2 separate regions of the Homo sapiens genome follow, and region 2 is linked to region 1. The links are contacts of gene promoters, found by promoter capture Hi-C in human tissues and cell types (Jung and others, 2019). All regions are on one chromosome and are shown on one strand. Each heading gives the region's core, a stretch centred on a gene start or on the middle of the fragment in contact. The rest is flanking DNA. Distances are from core to core; before and after follow the strand shown. Region 1 holds the start of GSTM4 (glutathione S-transferase mu 4). Region 2 has its middle 12 kb from the start of GSTM5.

The links. The method cuts DNA at HindIII sites, captures the fragments that hold promoters and counts their contacts. A contact is called where the count stands out against the background at its distance.
Region 2: a contact is called between a fragment that was not itself captured here and the fragment with the promoter of GSTM4 in region 1, in 2 of the 25 tissues and cell types used here (IMR-90 fibroblasts and bladder).

The regions. Positions count from the first base shown.
Region 1 is chr1:109,654,849-109,657,348 of GRCh38, reverse strand. GSTM4 (glutathione S-transferase mu 4) reads right to left here and starts at 1,250. Exons shown (of 8, transcript NM_000850.5): 1 at 924-1,250; 2 at 562-637; 3 at 70-134. The coding sequence starts at 959. RefSeq lists enhancers at 24-609, 1,483-1,532. The HindIII fragment of the contact is 7,232 bases long and covers 1-2,500 here.
Region 2 is chr1:109,722,804-109,725,587 of GRCh38, reverse strand. No RefSeq gene overlaps it. Among named protein-coding and RNA genes, the nearest start is that of GSTM5, 12 kb to the right of the region's middle. The HindIII fragment of the contact is 5,225 bases long and covers 1-2,784 here.

The sequences.
Region 1 (2,500 bases), core at 1-2,500:
TGGGGAGAGGAGATGCAGTCAGAGACACGTCGCACTTTCCCCCAAAACCGCCCCTTCCCCTGCACCTACATTGGGAAAGTCCAGGCCCAGCTTGAATTTTTCATTCAGCCACTGGCTTCTGTCATAGTCAGGAGCTGCCGTGGGGAAGAAGAAGTGAAAACAAACCTCCCCAGAGCCCAGCCCTCCTTCCCGGGGACCCTCCCAAGGAACCAGTGGCAAGATCCCTGAGACAGGTGGATCTAGAATCTGACCACTCAGTCCCACATCCCAGGGTTCAGGGACAAAGAATCCCGCTGAGGGCTCTGGACCCCACACGGCTAAGGCTTCCAGGGTTTAGGGAAGCTCTGAGGGACACCCAACCCAATTAAACAGGGGGCCCAGCATCCCGCCCCAGCATTCTGCCTTGCAAGGCCACAGGACTCCCTCACCGGGGCTCAGGGAAGGGACAGCCTGCAGCTCCAGCAGGGGAGGCCTGCAGAGGTAGCCACAGGTGGCCACCATGGGTTGCTTGGTGCCAACTCAGCGTGAGTGGGCAGAGCCCGGACACAAGGGTGTCATTACCGTCCCCCATCGTATACTTCTTTTCCTCGTAGCTTGAGTCTGTGTATTCCAGGAGCAGGCGGATGGCGTGGGCCAGCTGGAAGAGATGGCCCGCAGGTCGTGTCAGAGATGGAGGGTCCCTGACTTGGTGACTTTCTCTGCACCAGGTGAGCCCCTAGTCTACACTGCACTGCACCCCCCCCCCACCCCGGCGCACGCACACACACACACACACACACACACACACACACACACACAGGCATGCACAGGCCCTCCTGTGAGAGATAGCCCTAAGGAGGGAACCGTCCCTAGAGCCGGTCCCCAGCCGCTCGGCACTTCCCGCCCACGCGCCCGGTCCCACAGTGCAGCGGACCCTCACTCACCCCGCGGATGTCCCAGTACCCCAGTGTCATGGACATGATGCTGGTTGGTGTCGATTCTGCAGACAGGCCTCAGCTGGGCTGAACTGCGACCTCCTCTGGGGTTCCCGGCACGCAGGGGCTGGACCTAGCGCCAGACCCGCCCCCTCGGCCCCGCTGCGCCCGCCGATCTTCAAGGTCGTCACTTCCAACCGGCCGATCTTCAAGGTCGTCACTTCCAACCAACAGGCGCGGGAGGCACGGAGCAGGTTGCTGGATCCTCACTGGCTGGAAGGAGTAAGATCCACCGCCACCTCCGAGTGTTCAGGGAGCAAGGTCCGGAAGCACTAGGAGGGGCTCGGCCTCGCCAGCTTCCGTAGCCCCGCCCCGCCCCGCTCCGCTTCGGACCTCTGCTGGGTCCCCAGGGACTCGGCTGTGCGCGTGAGAGTAAAGCCAGATCGTAAGAGAAAAGTTCTTCCCCCGTTTCTTCTTCTCCGGACGTCGCCCAGCCTTCTGCCTCTCGGCTGCCGAGTTCCCACAGGCTCTGGGAGACTGAGGCTGCCAGGGTCAGACTAAAGAGAGGTCTCAGAGAGTTTAATTCAACACTTCTTGGCTACTAAGTCTTAGAAGTCTGATGGTGTGCTCTCTCTGCTGAGTTGGGGAGCGTGAATGGAGGCTATGTCACCGAAGCTGATAGAGCTCAGTCTCTGTTGCAGATGCTCCCGACCCTTTTGCATTGGGCCAGTTCCCCAGCTCTGAGACTGGGTCCAGGCTCAGGAAGTGGCCTATGTGTCAAGGTGGATTCCCATGTAGGTTTGCCTACAGCAAGACGATAGCACCATGCACACACAAGTGCTTGGACTTCTGAATAGTTATACTTCTCATTATACATTAAGACATTAAGAATGTGTCATTCTGAGTCTTTTTTTTTTTTTTTTTTTTGGAACGGGGACTCGCTGTGTTGCCCAGGCTGGAGTGCAGTAGGGCGATCTCGGTTCATTGCAACCTCCGCCTCCCGGGCTCAAGCGATTCTCCTGCCTCAGCCTCCCGAGCAGCTGGGATTACAGACGAGCGCCACGACGCCCTGCTAACTTTTTTGTATTTTCTGTAGAGATGGGATTTCACCGTGTTGACCAGACTGGTCTTGAACTCCTGGTCTCAAGTGATCCACCCGCCTCCGCCTCCCAAAGTGCTGGGATTACAGGCATGAGCCACGGTGCCTGGCCTGTCATTCTGAGTTTATCCATCTTGAGCTGGGAAAGATAAAATGTCTAGGTCCAATTGTGAAGATGATTTTTTAAGAAAGCTAACACTTATGAGAATAATTATGAAAGAAACAGAATTGATATTGTTACATTAGTATTCACCCATTTGGTCATTCCTTTATTGAAACAACAGTTGTTGAGATCCTACCATATTCCAGGCACTGGGAATAAAACAATCCTTCAAAAACACTGTACTTTGGCCACCTACGACTAGAAGTCAGGTGGGAACTACAGGGGAGAGATTTTGAAAATACGGGACACTTCTTACTGTTTTTGCACACTGAGAGGCAGTGGAGTGGGAGAGGGGTTGAGTGTAGGAGAGAGAAGCGGTGCCTG
Region 2 (2,784 bases), core at 194-2,693, 68 kb before region 1:
TGCTGTTTGATCATATAGCCTTCAGTGGAATGCTGAGTGGGTCACAACCCTCAGGCTTTCGGTTCCCAACACAATAATAATCTGTTTTCATTTGTAACAGGACACAGTTGGAGAAACTGGTTATTTTACCAAAGCTTTAACTTGAATGGTATGCTTTCCTTTAAGGAATCAAACTTGATTTATGGAGCCAATAAAGCCACTTGGGAAACTGGACTCATAGTTTTGTCCACCTGTGGTAGGTAAAGAATGTCACTTTCTGACAGGCCCAGGAGCCCCAAGTTTACTTTGGAACCTCAAGGGGAGAGGATCACCCAACTCATAGGTATTTAATGGCACAAATCCATGGCTGAGCTCAGCTTTAAAACAGTCTTATCTGAGATTCCTCCTGTGAACCCAGAAAATGTGAGACAAGTTCCAGAAAATCCGAGACAGGTCTGTCTTTCTTTCTTTCTTTCTTCCTTTCTTTCCCCTTCCCTTCCCTTCCCTTCCCTTCCCCTCCCTTCCCTTCCCTTCCCTTCCCTTCCTTTCTTTCATTTTTAGAGGGAGTTTTGCTCTGTCGCCCAGACTGGAGTGCAATGGCACAATCTCCGCTCACTGTAATCTCCACCTCCCAGGTTCAAGCGATTCTCCTGCCTCGGCCTACCAAGCAAGTAGCTGGGATTACAGGCATCTGCCACCATGCCCAGCTAAGTTTTGTATTTTTAGTAGAGACGAGGTTTCGCCATGTTGGCCAGGCTAGTCTTGGACTCCTCATCTCGGGTGATCCGCCTGCCTCAGCCTTTCAAAGTGCTGGGATTACAGGCGTGAGCCACCGTGCCCAGCCAGGTCTCAGTTAATTTAGAAAGTTTGTTTTGCCAAGGTTGAGGATGAATACCGGTGGCACAGCCTCAGGATGTCCTGACAACATGTGCCGCAGGTGTTCAGGGCACAGCTTGATTTTATACATTTTAGACAGACATGAAACATCAATTAATATGTATAAAGAACTACATTGGTTTGGTCTGGAAAGGTGGGACAACTTGAAGCACCCACCTGCTTCGAGTTGTCCAGCCTTTCTGGATGGAACCAATGTGCTTTTTACATATATTGATAAGCCATAGCTTTTATATATATTTACAAACCAAGCTGTGCCCCGACCATCTTGGGGACATGTTGTCAAGGACTTTCTGAGACCGTGTCATGGCCACATCCTCCACCTTGGCAAAATAAACTTTCTGATTTAACTTGGACCTCTCCCAGATTTTCTGGGTTTACAAGTTCATGGTCTGGCTTATTTCTTCCTTGCTTAGGCCAAATTGAAATGAAACATTTCTGAAAACTAACAGGGATTGGCTCTTAATGTTCTTATGGGGTTTACAATGGAAATAATTACAGATAACTGACACGTGAGACTTAAATCTGGAAGAAAAGATTAAATGGGTGTGGGTATATTTGAATTTTAAATGAATAGGTGCTTCTGTGTGGCCTGACTTGGAGACAGCGGGCCAACCTAGTGTTCGCAGGAGATGTTTTCCATGATGCAAAATAATAGGAATAGAACACACCAGCTAATAATGTTCATGTTGTATTGGAAGTTTGAAGGAAAATTAGAATTATTAAATAGGCCTGTACTTTATCTTCTGTAGTACAACACTTTCAATTATATTAACAGATACTCTTTTTGAACTGTGACCAAGACCCTATCTGCTTCTTTCCAAAATTATGTTTCAGGCCGCACGCAGTGGCTTATGCATGTAATCCCAGCATTTTGGGAGGTGGAGGGAGGCAGAGGCAGGCAAATCACTTGAGCCCAGGAGTTCAAGACCAGCCTGGGCAACATGGCAAAACCCCATCTCTACAAAATACAGGAAAAAAAATTAGCCAGGCATGGTGGCATGTGCCTGTAGTCCCAGCAACCCAGGAGGCTGACGTGGAAGGATCACCTGAGCCCAAGGAAGTCAAGGCTGCAGTGAGCCATGATTGCACTACTGCACTCCAGCTTGGGCGACAGAGCAAGACCTTGTCTAAAAAAAAAAAAAAAAATTATGTTTCAACTGGAAGAGAACTAAAGGTATGCAGGGAATGTAGGGTGTCTGTTGGGCCTTTTGGACAGAATATGCTTTGAGAGGATTTGTTGGGGCTATTCCAAAAGGCGGAGTCCTCTGTGGAAAACCAGATCTGTTTACAAGGAGTATGACAATTAACATTTGCAGAGAGAGTTGGTCCGGAACCCATCAGAATGGACCACTCTCGCTCACTGCTTCCAAGTCTCAGGTTACCATGTGGTAGTGGCCAGTCTGTCTCTGTGTCTCTGTCATCAGTAAGAGTTTCCCTCACCATTCCACACAAGCCACATGAGCCTAAAAAATGTAGGGTAACAAAGTGGGATGACAGTAAACCTGAGTGGGGTCACAGAGGGATGGAGACAAGAGCCAATCCAAGGAGTGACTTTGGGTTGTTCATATCAATGCTTAGTATATAAGTCTTATTACGCAATATCTCTTCAGAGTCCCTTCACCAAAGAAGTGCATTCTATAAGCATTGTAAATAAATGCAAAACAGCTTATTTGCAAATCTGAGTGCAGCCTGTTTTCTACTGTATCATATAGGCTTACCTAATTTTTCCCTTTTTTCCACTTCCCATTTCATTTGTTATTTTATAGAGGGTGAATTGGGGTTTGTTTTTACTCTTTCTTTCGTCCTTTATTATTATTTTTTTTTTTCAGAGATGAGGTCTCACTATGTTGCCCAGGCTAGAGTGCACTGATTATACACAGGTGCAATCATAGCTCACTGCAAACTTCT